Linked DNA regions of Homo sapiens: region 2 is linked to region 1. The links are contacts of gene promoters, found by promoter capture Hi-C in blood cells and fetal thymus (Javierre and others, 2016). All regions are on one chromosome and are shown on one strand. The core of a region is centred on a gene start or on the middle of the fragment in contact, and the rest is flanking DNA. Distances in the headings are between cores, read along the strand shown.

Region 1 (6,976 bases), core at 2,711-5,210:
GGGCGACTTCGATGTGGCCACCGGCCAGTTTCGCTGCCGCGTGCCCGGCGCCTACTTCTTCTCCTTCACGGCTGGCAAGGCCCCGCACAAGAGCCTGTCGGTGATGCTGGTGCGAAACCGCGACGAGGTGCAGGCGCTGGCCTTCGACGAGCAGCGGCGGCCAGGCGCGCGGCGCGCAGCCAGCCAGAGCGCCATGCTGCAGCTCGACTACGGCGACACAGTGTGGCTGCGGCTGCATGGCGCCCCGCAGTACGCGCTAGGCGCGCCCGGCGCCACCTTCAGCGGCTACCTAGTCTACGCCGACGCCGACGCTGACGCGCCTGCGCGCGGGCCGCCCGCGCCCCCCGAGCCGCGCTCGGCCTTCTCGGCGGCGCGCACGCGCAGCTTGGTGGGCTCGGACGCTGGCCCCGGGCCGCGGCACCAACCACTCGCCTTCGACACCGAGTTCGTCAACATTGGCGGCGACTTCGACGCGGCGGCCGGCGTGTTCCGCTGCCGTCTGCCCGGCGCCTACTTCTTCTCCTTCACGCTGGGCAAGCTGCCGCGTAAGACGCTGTCGGTTAAGCTGATGAAGAACCGCGACGAGGTGCAGGCCATGATTTACGACGACGGCGCGTCGCGGCGCCGCGAGATGCAGAGCCAGAGCGTGATGCTGGCCCTGCGGCGCGGCGACGCCGTCTGGCTGCTCAGCCACGACCACGACGGCTACGGCGCCTACAGCAACCACGGCAAGTACATCACCTTCTCCGGCTTCCTGGTGTACCCCGACCTCGCCCCCGCCGCCCCGCCGGGCCTCGGGGCCTCGGAGCTACTGTGAGCCCCGGGCCAGAGAAGAGCCCGGGAGGGCCAGGGGCGTGCATGCCAGGCCGGGCCGGAGGCTCGAAAGTCCCGCGCGAGCGCCACGGCCTCCGGGCGCGCCTGGACTCTGCCAATAAAGCGGAAAGCGGGCACGCGCAGCGCCCGGCAGCCCAGGCCCCTGCGCTGTCTTGACTGCGACGCATTCGCCGGCGGCAGGCGGGAAGGTGCTGACTACTGCGGGCCCGCAGGCCCGGGGAAGGGGTTGGAGGTTGGAAAGCAAGGTCCCCTTGGACCCTGGGAGGGTGAGGAGGTGGGAATTTGATGGAACCACATTCGCCTAGTCCGTTGGGGGCCTCCCTTTTATATCCCTACCTCGTCTAGCCCTCTGACTCATCATTGACCTACGACCTCAGCCTTAGCCCCCGGCTGATGCCTTTCTGTGACAAGGAACAGCACCCCATTACCCCACAGGGTGCATGGGATTCAAGGAAACAGTGCATTCCTTCTTCCAGCAGGGCGTGGGAATGAGATGAGGAGTTGATACCTGGTTGCCCTGACTCTTGCCTTCCCGGGATGGGGAGAGTGATTTGCCCAGAGCAGGGGTTAGACGCTTATTCCGACATAGAATGACACAGGCTCCAGGAGGCCGAAACAGAACATTTTATGAGAAGAGCAACACAGAATCAGGGCCACACCTGCTCCAGCCCACCTCCGCTTGTCTCTCCTTGGTCTCCCAGCCTTACTCCCCCCTCTGAGGTATTCACCCGACGCTTGTTGAGATATTGCCTCCCTACCCCAAAAGAGATAATGTTCCTCCCTCCCCCTGCTTCCCTCCACTCTTCCAACTGACAGAACTCAAAAAGTCGATTCTCCCAACCCAGATGGGAACTTGGAGGCTCAGAGACCCCAAATCCTTGGTTGTGCCTAAAAGGGGATGCTCAGCACCTAGAGGATTCCTGTGAATTCCACAGGACCTGTCACAGACTGCCAGGGTAGGAGTTGGAAGGTCTGACCAGGCCTTACTTGGGGCAGCTTCCCTTCAGCATCTCTTGAACACACTTCTCAACCCTGACCCCTGATCTCCACACACACACACACACACACACACACACACACACACTCACACACACACTGCCTGCAAGTCGTGCCCTTAGCTCTGTGCCCACTCCTTGCGCACTCCTTGCGACCCAGAGCCTGGGTTCTTAGCCTCTCAAGATCTAGGAAACAAGATCTGGTCGGGGTAAGCAGAGAGGGGGTGTCCAGGGTGCAAGCCAAGCCCAGAGATCTGAACACGGTGAAAAGAATCAGATGCCAGACAGAAGCCCCTGCGCAAGATGGGTCTGCCTGGGGGGTTGAGGAGGAGATGGGAGGGGGTAATGGCAGGTGAAAGAACAAAAGAGGAGGGTCAGGGGAAGGGGTCAAGGATGGAGGCCCAGGACCCCAGGGAAGGGGGCCGGTCCTGGGGGCAGAAACCTTTGCACAGGTCCCAGAGTGTTTCCTGTGCCAGGAGAGCGAAGACCTGGGCCCAGCGGCCCCGTTCCTCAGCCTCACTAGCTGCGTGGAGCCGGTAGACGCAGGACAGGCCTGTGAGGAGCAGATGTTCAAAGTCCCAAGTGCTAAGAGGAGGCCCCTTCCGCAGGTCCTGGAGCTGCTGCAGCCACTGCTCAGTGCCCTCCAAGTCACTGGGCACGTGGTGCTGCAGGAGGAGTCTGAGTCGGCGGCCTGGGTGTGTGGACGCTAGTTCCTCATCCTGGATGTGCAGCTGCCCCATGACATCCAGCTCCAGCCCAGCCCAGAGCAGCTGCAAGGGGAGCCATGTAAGGGGTGGGCTGTGGCCTGGGGAGCAGGGCAGGGAGCAAGAGTGGGCTGGGGGAAGGGGCAGAAGCAGGCAGCAGGACGCATGCTGGCTTGCCCCACCCAACCCTAGCAGGTCCACCCTGAGACATCCCCCTTCCCAACCCTGAGCTTAGGGACCTCTGGACGTGCCCACCCCCATGTCCCAGGCTGGGAGGAAAGACCTCAAACATCACTTCCGGGGCCTCTGGCTCCTGCAGGCCACCTCCCACGCTGGTGCTGTCCATGGGCTGCCCTGGGGCAGCAGAGAGGAGTCAGGCCCCTGCCATGCTACACCATGAACACCCCAGCCTCCCAGAAGTGCCCCTCTGCTGCCTGGTAGAGGTCCCGAGTGCTTCATCATTCTACAAAAGGGCAGGAATGCCATCCCATGCCCTCCTTTCCCCTCCCTCTCACGCACACACATGCACATTGACATTCACCCTCCCAGGCATAGGTCCTCTGATCTCAAAAGCATCATTCCAAGCCCAGTTACCATGTTGGCAAATGCCCAGGACACCTCCTTTAAATTGCACAATGCCCTTGTTAAAGAGCTCCAGGCCAACGGGTCACAAGACCCTTCCCCACCCTCCTCCCCTCCCTATAGTCATCTGAGGATAAAGTCACCTAAAACAGTGCCAGTGACTCTCCCAAGGACAAAGACCTCTTTGGAAAGAGCCTACTCTCCCTGCTCCTCCTCAGCAGTAAGGGAGGGAGGAGGAAGACAGGGCAGGGAGGACAGAGCAGGGGAGGATGTGAGGCAGGGAGGACGGGGCAGGGGAGGATGTGAGGCAGGGAGGACAGAGCAGGGGAGGATGTCTGTGGCAGCTCCGTCCGGCCCACACCTTGGGGTGTTGCCTCACCCTTGCAATGTTTGTTCCAAGCCCAGGCAGGTCAAGAGACCCTGCTTTGGGCATCAGTGGGAATGAGCCCAGGGCCAGCATTAAGAGCACCTAGGGCTATCTCCCTAGGTGTCACCTGTACCTTTCCAGTTCTGGGGGTGGGGCCCACACTGTCACCCACCACAGCACACATCAGCCTGGTACCCACCATGCCCACGCTTCTATGCCCGACTAGCCTCAAATAGAGCCAACTGTTAACTGCTGTCAGCCAGCAGCCTTGGCTCCTCTCCACCCACCCTGAAGCCTGGTACCTGCATGGGGCTGGGTTGTAGTCACACCAGAGAGGAGACAAATGGCTACCACCAGGCAAACCAGGAACTGCAGGGTCGCAGCCATGCTCAACCACGTCCTCTGAGTCTCACTCTGTTCAGCAGTTCTCTGCTCCCTCATCTGCCTGCCACACACCTCAGCTCCAACTTTCCACTGCGGGCTGCTCCAGAGCTCTGTAATGCGTGTCATTCTTCAGTGCTGAACAGGGAGGGGCTGGCTGTGGCCTCGGTCACCTCCCAGGGGCTCTTTCCATCCTTTAGAAATGGGGAATCTTTGGTTGTTGGCAGGAGCCTGGCTCCCTGCTTGTCAGGCCCTCAGCCTGTTCCTGCCCAGCTGGGCGGTATGCTTAGTTAATAGGAAAAAGGTGTTTGGTAGCAAATAGCTGTAGCTTGGCCCTCCCAAAGGGTAGGAAAGAGCTCAGGCAGTAAGACCATCTTACTGTCTGCGCCCTCAAAATATCCTGCGACTGAGGCCAGCCCCGACACCCAGTCTGGCCCAGCCCAGCCTCCAAGGAGCCCCTCAGCTGCCAAAAGCATCAGCTGCAAAGTCTTCCAACTGCATGGTGGGCTGGCTGGGCGGCCCCACAGACAGGCAGAGCCAAGCACTCCCCTCTCAGGCACTCTGCCGCAGGCTGGACAGACAGATCAGCTGGGCTAGGGCGTATTGTCCCCTGGCAGACAGACAAATCTGCAGCTCCTGAGTGGTTTTTGCCCCAGCCCTGGGACCTCTTGTTTCCTAGCAACATTCTTAATTCAGAGCGGGCACGGTGGCTCATGCCTGTAATCCCAGCACTTTAGGAGGGCAAGACAGGAGGATGGCTTGAGCCCAGGAGTTCAAGACCAGCCTGGGCAACATGGTGAGCCCTCATCTCTACAAATAAATTAGCTGGGTATGGTGGTACACACCTGTGGTCCTAGCTACTCAGGAGGCTGAGGTGGGAGGATCACCTGAGCCCAGGCAGTCTAGACTGCAGTGAACCACGATCACACTGCTGTACTCACTCTAGCCTAGGTGACAGACCAAGACCCTGTCTCAAAAAACCCCCACCAGCCTGGCGCGGTGGCTCACGCCTGTAATCCCAGCACTCTGGGAGGCCGAGGCGGGCAGATCACCTGAGGTCGGGAGTTTGAGACCAGCCTGACCAACATGGAGAAACCCCATCTCTACTAAAAATACAAAATTGGCCGGGCGTGGTGGCGCAAGCCTGTAATCCCAGCTACTCGGGAGGCTGAGGCAGAGTTGCTTGAACCCGGGAGGCGGCGGTCACAGTGAACCAAGATCATGCCATTGCACTCCAGCCTGTGCAACAATAGCAAAACTCCATCTCAAAAAAAAAAAAAAAAGAAGAAGAAAAAAAGAACCCCACCATTCTCAGCTCAGGCCAGAAACCAGGGAGATTCCTGTAGCCCAAGAGTGATTGGCTACCATGCCACACCCATCCTGAACCCTGTGGACTGTGAGAACTTTCAGTTACAGCTCCAGAATCCCTCTCAGAAATACATCCATGCCTGCAGGCCACCACGTCTGCAACTACACTCTTTAGTCCCATTAAAATAGACCTCCGGCTGAGTGTGGTGGCTCACGCCTATAATCCCAGCACTTTGGGAGGCCAGTGTGGATCATTTGAGGCCAGGAGTTCGAGACCAGCCTGGGCAACATGGTGAAATCCCATCTCTACAAAAACTATAAAAACTAGCTGGGCGTGGTGGCGTGCATCTGTAATCCCAGCTTCTTGGGAGGCTGAGGGGGGAGAACCGCTTGGGCCTGGGAGGTGGAGGTTGCAGCGAGCTGCGACAGCACCACTGCACTCCAGCCTGGGTGACAGAGCGAGACTCCATCTCAAAAAAACATAAAAGAGCTGGTCACAGTGGCTCACGCCTATAATTCCAGCACTTTGGGAGGCCGAAGCAGACAGATCACCTGAGGTCAGGAGTTCAAGAACAGCCTGACCAATATGGAGAAACCCCGTCTTTACTAAAAATACAAAATTAGCCAGGTGTGGTGGCACACACCTGTAATCCCAGCTACTCGGGAGGCTGAGGCAAGAGAATTACTTGAACCCAGGAGGCGGAGGTTGTGGTGAGCCGAGATCACGCCATTGTACTCCAGCCTCGGCAACAAGAGCGAAACACTGTCTCAAAAAAAAAAAAAAAAACCCATCAAAGACTCCCTGGTTTAGTAGTGCCTCTCTAAGAGAGCAGGGAAACACCCCTGCCTGCCTGTGTCCCCCCCAAAGCATCACTTCTCCACATTACAAGCACACACAAAGTGGTAAGTCTAAGTAGGAATTTATTTACACGGACACTCAATCATAGATAAGGCGCTGTCTAGGATCCACATGCGTTCCCTGGAGCTACTTGGCATCAGGCTTCTTGTCTCCGGCTTCAAGCTTGAGACTCTCCGGGGGTTGGCGATAGACTGGGAAAGCCTCCCAGGGGCTGTTCAGGTCAAATTTGCGGAACTCTTGGGCCAACTCCACCGGCTCTGCCACCACCCGCTTCACTTCATCATCATAACGTAACTGCAGGAGCAAAAGGCAGGCTTGAGCACTAAGGAAGTCCTTATTATAGCTACACAGGAGCCTACTTTTCACAAGGCTATTGGTGACTTCCCCAGCCCATTCCTCTCGGTTACTGACTCCTGTCCCAGCCTCTGTCAGTAAGTCTCCATCCATACCTGTGTTACCCGTCAGATCACATCCCAACCAGCTAGAGTGTGTGATTCCAAAATGTAGGATACCTCTCATGCCCTGCCAGCACCAGTCAGATTCCCCTGCTCACCACTCCCACATCAGGAGCTCCGAACTGACTGCTCACCCACCCACACACTCTTACAAGGTAATGGTAAGCATTTGCCCAGGATTAGGGAGTAGTCGGTGGCTGAAAAGAGTAAACCTAAACTGGCAGATACACAACCTCAGGCCCGGTGCCCTTGGCATATTCACAGTCCAGATCTAAAGCAGTACATTTGACACAGCTTTTCTTGTTACTTGGGGATCAAATGGATAAGGTAAGGATCATCAGGTGCTAGAGTGAAGAGGCAAACCAGGTGAGGCAGATAGCAGGAGTGGGGTGAAAGGGAGAAGCGAGGGAGATAGCCCTGCCCAGAAGTAGCCCAAGAGGGAAATAGGAGCATGCAAAGCACTAACACAGCAGGAGTGACTGGGAACTAAA
Region 2 (6,976 bases), core at 2,775-5,274, 100 kb after region 1:
GGTAAGAAAGCTCCCACTAGTAAATGGAAATGTGGTAACTTTGATATGTGGGATATACTTACACATATCAGACACACACTGAAAACCATTTTGGGGAAAAGGTAACTGCTGCAGGAATTGATGTAAAGGAAGACATAAAGGGAGCAGTTCAGAGATTACCTGACATTAGTTCTCTCTCAGTCAAGAGTCTTGTGTATTTTGACTTCTTGACTCACATTCTGTTTTCTGGGGAAAGATCATGAAGCAGACATGAGTTCAGAGAGAACTCTTTAAAGCTCTAGTTCTGGTATTTTAGAGTCCATATGTATTTTTGAATACCATCAATATATACAGTGATAATAATCATATTTTTCCTTTTCAGATGCATCACCCTATACAGATGAAACCTGCTGACAGTGAGAAGAACAATGGTAAGCAAATGTATACAATCTTCCCCTTAAGATTTCTGCCTAGGCCAGGCACGGTGGCTCACACCTGTAATCCCAGCACTTTGGGAGGCCAAGACAGATGGATTGCTTGAGGCCGGAGTTCGAGCCAGTCTGGCCAACATGGTGAAACCCCGTCTCTACTAAAAATACAAACATTAGCTGGGTATGGTTGTGCATGCCTGTAATCCCAGCTACTCAGGAGGCTGAGGCATGAGAATCTCTTGAACCCGGGAGGCGGAGGTTGCAATGAGCTAAGATCATGCCAGTGTACTCCCGCCCAGGCAACAGAGTGAGACTCTGTCTCAAAAAAAAAAAAGATTTCTGCCTAGTTTGTTTGCTGTTCTTAGGTTATCTGAATTGAATTGTGCTTTAAGTAATCCGTTGTCTAAGTTGTCTCAGTTTTTTCTTTAAAAGTATGATGAAGAACAGAGCTGACAGAGAAATATTATAAGAACATTGTAGAATGAACTGGAATATACTTGGTCAGTATAATTTCTTTTGGACAGGAATGAGGGGGCAAAATGAACAAATTAGGAAGGAGAACTTAATTCTCGAATTTTTTTTTTTTTTTGAGATGGAGTCTCACTCTGTTGCCTGGGCGGGAGTACACTGGCATGATCTTAGCTCATTGCAACCTCCGCCTCCCGGGTTCACTGCATTCTCCTGCCTCAGCCTCCCGAGTAGCTGGGACTACAGGTGCCTGCCACCACGCCCGGCTAATTTTTTGTATTTTTAGTAGAGACGGGGTTTCACTGTGTTAGCCAGGATGGTCTCGATCTCCTGACCTTGTGATCCGCCCGCCTCGGCCTCCCAAAGTGCTGGGATTACAGGCGTGAGCCACCACGCCTGGCCTTAATTCTCAAGAAGATAGTCAGGACCAGGTGAGGTGGCTCATGCTTGTAATCCCAGCACTTTGGGAGCGCACGGCGGGCGGATCACCCGGCCAACATGGTGAAACCCTGTCTCTACTAAAAATACAAAAATTAGCTGAGTGTGGTGGTGCATGCCTGTAATCCCAGCTACTCAGGAGGCTGAGACAGGAGAATCGCTTGGACCCAGGAGACGGTGGTTGCAGTATGCTGAGATCGTGCCACTGCACTCCAGCCTGGGTGACAGAGCAAGACTCTGTCTCAAAAAAAAAAAAAATTCAGAAAAGTAGACAGTTACATTCACTGAAAGGTGTATTCTCTTCCACTTGTCATATCAAGTGTGAAAACCTCTTCTTTCTTTAGTAGTATTGCCAGTAAGAGCAAACAATGCTGGCTGGGCACAGTGGCGCACACCTGTAATCACAGCACTTTAAGAGGCTGAGGCCGGAGGATTGCGTAAGCCCAGGAGTTTGAGACCAGCCTTGGCAATAAGAGTGAAACCTCTCTGCAAAAAATTAGCTGGGTGTGGTGGTACATACCTGTGGTCCCAGCTATTCGGGAAGCTGAGGTGGGAAGATTGCTTAAACCCGGCAGGTCAAGGCTGTAGTGAGCCATGATCATGCCACCGCACTTCAGCCTGGGTGACAGCGAGACTCTTGTCTCAAAAAGAGGAAACAATACAAAGGACTAGGGAAGATGCCAAGTACTTCACATTTAATAGCAACTGCTACCCTTTGAAGTAAACCTGATTATTCCTATTAGTTAGATGAGGAAACAGGCACAGAATGGTTGAGTAACTTTCACAAGATTACAAAGCTACCATATTTCATCTAAATGCTTCTAATTATAATTTTAAGATAACATTGGTTATAAAAAGAGACGTGAAGCCGGGCGTGGTGGGTCACACCTGTAATCCCAGCACTTTGGGAGGCCGAGGCGGGTGGATCACCTGAGGTCGAGAGTTCAAGAACAGCCTGACCAACATGGAGAAACCCCATCTCTACTAAAAATACAAAATTAGCCAGGCATTTTGGCGCATGCCTGTAATCCCAGCTACTCAGGAGGCTGAGGCAGGAGAATCACTTGAATCCGGGAGGCGGAGCTTGCGGTGAGCCGAGATCGCGCCATTACACTCCAGCCTGGGCAACAAGAGCGAAACTCCATCTCAAAAACAAGAAAAAAAGAGATGTGAAAAATACAAAAAACAAATGTGTGTCTTTGAATCTGTAAAATATGGTACAGAGCCAGGATTCAAACCCAGGCGGTCTGGCTCCCAAATCTGTGCCACATTGCCTCTTTAAGTAGTAATATTCAAGTCTTTTCTGTTTTACTCTCTTAGCAGTGGAAGACAGGAAGCTGTTTATTGGTATGATTTCCAAGAAGTGCACTGAAAATGACATCCGAGTCATGTTCTCTTCGTTTGGACAGATTGAAGAATGCCGGATATTGCGGGGACCTGATGGCCTGAGCCGAGGTAGGTAGTTTTAGCTTTTAAATAATCTTTTGGTTTTTTGTTTTGGTTTGGTTTGGGGTTTTTTTTTTTTTGGAGACAAGGTCTTGCTCTCTCTCACCCAGGCTGGAGTGCAGTGGTGCCTTCACAACTCACTGCAGCCTGAACCTCCCAGGATCAGCCTCCTGAGTAGCTGGGACCACAGGCATGCATCATGACACCCAGCTAATTTTTAAATTTTTTATAGAGAAAAGGTCTCCCTGTGTTGCCCAGGCTGGTCTTGAACTCCTGGACTCAAACGATCCTGTCATCTTGGCCTCCCAAAGTGCCAGGATTGTAGGTGTGAGCCACTGCACCGGGCTTGGAATCTTTTTAATTTGACCGGTGGAAACTAGCAACAGTGATTCCCTAGCCAATATGGCCCAGTCAAGATAAAGAGGTTGGGCCTGCTGCTTCCTGCTGTATATCTATGTCCTGTCTTGACTCCTCCTATCAGTTCATTCTTTTTGTCTCCCAGCCCCTCTAAGGAGTCTACATTCTATATTTCATTGTCATGTATTAAAATTTTCTCTTTTGGTGCTTTGCAAGATCCTTGATGCCAAAATGGAAATACTTTCTTCTTCCATTTTCTTTTATTTTCAAGAGGAACTAGAGGATATGAGTCCTCCTTTCTCCTGTCAAGCATTTTTTTTTTCTGTCAGTGGTTCTGTTTTTTCATTATAGCACATATCACCCTGTTGCAACATACCAGCACATGATTCCCTGAAAACAGGGACTGTGTCTGTATTGCTAGCATGATAGTCAGCACATAGTAGGTGCTCAGTTAATGTTTGTCAGAGAAATAAATGAATGCATGAGTTACTGACTCTTCTCTTACCAGGTTGTGCATTTGTGACTTTTACAACAAGAGCCATGGCACAGACGGCTATCAAGGCAATGCACCAAGCACAGACCATGGAGGTAGGGAGCAGATAGGTGATGGGGAAAATTCCTCAGCTTGGGAATGCTGGGACAGTTGGCCATTAAAGTCCAGCAGCATGTGCAGCATCTGATTGCCCAGAAGGTTAAACAGCCAACATCTTAAAGTTAAAAACCACTGATTTCTTTAAAATTAACGTATTGGAAATGCTCTCCCTACCCCTTTTTTTGAGATGGGGTCTTACTTTGTCACCTGGGCTGGAGTGCAGTGGGAATATCATGGCTCACTGCAGCCCCAACCACCCAGGCTCAAGTGATCCCCCCTACCTCTGCCACTCAAGTAGCTGGGACTACAGGTGCACACCAGCACGCCCAGTTAATTTTTGTATTTTTTTTTAATAGCGACCGTTTTGCCATGTTGCCCAGGCTGGTCTAAAATTCCTGGGCTCAAGTGATCCACCCGCCTCAGCCTCCCAAAGTGTTGGGATTACAGTCTCTTCTCTCTTGTGTCTATCATGAGGAGAATCATTTGGCAGTGAATGAAATTAGAATGTAACCTGCATGTCATCCAAAAGGAAGATTTTTTTTCTTCTTTTCAGATGGAGGAATTTGACCCTTTCGTTATGGTCTTTTCACAGGGTTGCTCATCACCCATGGTGGTAAAATTTGCTGATACACAGAAGGACAAAGAACAGAAGAGAATGGCCCAGCAGCTCCAGCAGCAGATGCAGCAAATCAGCGCAGCATCTGTGTGGGGAAACCTTGCTGGTCTAAATACTCTTGGACCCCAGTATTTAGCAGTGAGTCTTTGTGGTTTGCTTTCTGCAGACTGTGCAAGCTCCCAGCTGTTCCTTCTTCTGCTGTCCCTAGCCAACAAACACAGTGGCATTTACAACTTTTGGCATATAGAAATTATATGTAAAAATTCAGGTAGTACTATTTCTTTTAGTCCTGTTAGTCTCTTTCTCTCTCTATATATATGTATCTCTGGACATGCATCTCTGGTTATATCTTGAGGCTTTTGCTGCAACTAAAGTGAATTCCTGGTTTCCCGTTTTAAAGATTTAGAAACATCTTGTGTCCTTGCCTCCAAGAAAGAAATTCCTGAGGGAATCTTAACTACCAGTGTCTTTCTCCATATCTCTTTCTACCAGATGTAGAGGGCATCATTAAAATCCTTATTGAGTCTTTCCTAAAGAGTATGATAAATGTTTCTTTCAGCGGACTTGAGAGATCAAGAGATTTTTTTTCTTTTTTTGCTTTATTTATTTATTTATTTATTTATTTTTTGAGACGGAGTCTCACTCACTCTGTCACCCAGGCTAGAGTGCAGTGGCACAATCTTGGCTTACTGCAACCTCCACCTCGGGTTCAAGTGATTCTCCTGCCTCAACTTCCCAAGTAGCTGGGACTACAGACACACACCATCACACCCAGCTAATTTTTGTATTTCTAGTAGGGATGGGCTTTCACTGTGTTGGCCAGGCTGGTCTCGAACTCACGACCTCAGGTGATCCACCTGTCTTGGCCTCCCAAAGTGCTGGGTTTACAGGTGTGAGCCACTGCGCCTGGCGGAGATCAAGAGATTAACATGAACATTTTTAAATGAGCATTACAGGTGTATATTCAAGTTTACTACATTGTAAATAGACTTCCTTTAATTTGATCTCTCTGTTGTCGTGAGCCAAAAGAAGGTTGTCTAGTCCAAAAGAAGGTCTCGCCCCAATTTGTGATTTAGATTTACTAGGTCTGCAGTGTATATGTTACAGGGGATTATTAATGGAAAAGAATTGGGCCAGCACAAGACAGTTAAAACCACCCATTTGTGAGTCAAAGAGGAAAAAGGTCATCTTAGGCTATTAATGGTGAAACCACTAGATTTGTATGGATGATACAAAAATATTCACATAGAAATAGCTAGTATAGTCATTTATTCCTCATCATTTCAAGTATTATTCTGTATGGAAACAGACAAAAGGCACTGATTTCTGTCTCCCAGTACTGAATTTTGGTTTAGTTCCAGTGGTTTTCATATTTCTAATATCTTATAAGAAATCCCAGTTTAGGCCGGGCGCTGTGACTCACGCCTGTAATCCCAACACTTTGGGAGGCTGAGGTGAGTGGATCGCCTGAGGTTGGGAGTTTGAGACCAGCCTGGCCAGCATGGTGAAACCCTGTCTATACTAAAAATACAAAAAAATTACATGGGTGTGGTGGCAGGTGCCTGTAATCCCAGCTGCTCGGGAAGCTGAGGCAGGAGAATGGCTTGAACCTGGGAGGCGGAGGTTGCACTGAGCGGAGGTTGCAGTGAGCCAAGATCGCACCATTGCACTCCAGCCTGGGCAATAGAGCGAGACTCTGTCTCACAAAAAAAAAAAAAAAAAAAAAAAAAGAAGAAGAAAAAAAAAAAAAACCCCAGTTTATCCTAGCTAGTATTTCTCTGAAGTTTTTTTAAAAAAATATAAAGAGTTGGGGTTGTTTTGTTTTGTTTTGTTTTGAAGCCTCGCTCTGTTGCCCAGGTTGGAAAACAGTGGCGCAATCTCTGCTCACTGCAACCTCCAACTGCAAGCAGCTGGGATTACAGTCATGTGCCACCACGCCTGGCTAATTTTTGTAGTTTTAGTAGAGACAGGGTTTTGCTTATGTGAGCCAGGCTGGTCTCAAACTCCCGACCTCAAGTGATTTGCCTACCTTGCCCTCCCAAAGTTCTGGGATTACAGGCGTGAACCACTGGGTCCGGTTATATTTCAACAGAAAAAATTGTTTCTTAGTGCTGAAACATTGCTTATATGTTCAGAAAATTCAGGGAGGTTTTAGTCATCTGCAGAAATGATAATGCTTTGAAAATGGTCTACATGCTATGCATTTGCTTTTCTTAGAGACTTTTGGAGCCCCCCTTTAGGGAAGGTTAACCTTTTTGTTGTCATTGCCACTACCAGCAAGTACATGATGGCATGTGTTGAGAGCTGTGTTCTCTTTGTTTTGGTTAGACATGATTCCTGCCCTAAGAGCTAATCTCATTTGGAGGGAAATGAAGGGACCAAGTACAGTATTCACCGTCCACCAGTTAGGACTGAACACATAGCCCAAGGTGTTTAAGAAGAAAAAGGCCAGGCGCGGTGGCTTATGCCTGTAATCCCAGCATTTTGGGAAGCCGAGGCAGGCAAATCACCTGAGGTTAGGAGTTTGAGACCAGCCTGACCAACATGGTGAAACCCCGTCTCTACTAAAAATACAAAAATTAGCTGGGTGTGATGGTACACACCTGTGGTCCCAGCTACTCGGGAGGCTGAGGCAGGAGAATCGCTTGA

What was found. The method cuts DNA at HindIII sites, captures the fragments that hold promoters and counts their contacts. A CHiCAGO score of 5 or more calls a contact.
Region 2: a fragment that was not itself captured here is called in contact with the fragment with the promoter of FAM180B in region 1 in 5 of 17 cell types (M2 macrophages, M1 macrophages, M0 macrophages and 2 more); the score reaches 12.0 in M2 macrophages.

The regions. Positions count from the first base shown.
Region 1 is chr11:47,583,662-47,590,637 of GRCh38, reverse strand. FAM180B (family with sequence similarity 180 member B) reads right to left here and starts at 3,960. Exons shown (of 3, transcript NM_001164379.3): 1 at 3,785-3,960; 2 at 2,817-2,887; 3 at 1,444-2,599. The coding sequence starts at 3,869. The coding sequence ends at 2,204. NDUFS3 (NADH:ubiquinone oxidoreductase core subunit S3) reads right to left here. Exons shown (of 7, transcript NM_004551.3): 7 at 6,076-6,324. The coding sequence ends at 6,157. C1QTNF4 (C1q and TNF related 4) reads left to right here. Exons shown (of 2, transcript NM_031909.3): 2 at 1-971. The coding sequence ends at 817. RefSeq lists silencers at 1,230-1,430, 3,055-3,255. The HindIII fragment of the contact is 7,265 bases long and covers 1-6,194 here.
Region 2 is chr11:47,480,184-47,487,159 of GRCh38, reverse strand. CELF1 (CUGBP Elav-like family member 1) reads left to right here. Exons shown (of 15, transcript NM_001376376.1): 5 at 1; 6 at 362-410; 7 at 2,637-2,771; 8 at 3,628-3,707; 9 at 4,304-4,465. Among named protein-coding and RNA genes, the nearest start is that of RAPSN, 35 kb to the right of the region's middle. The HindIII fragment of the contact is 9,324 bases long and covers 1-6,976 here.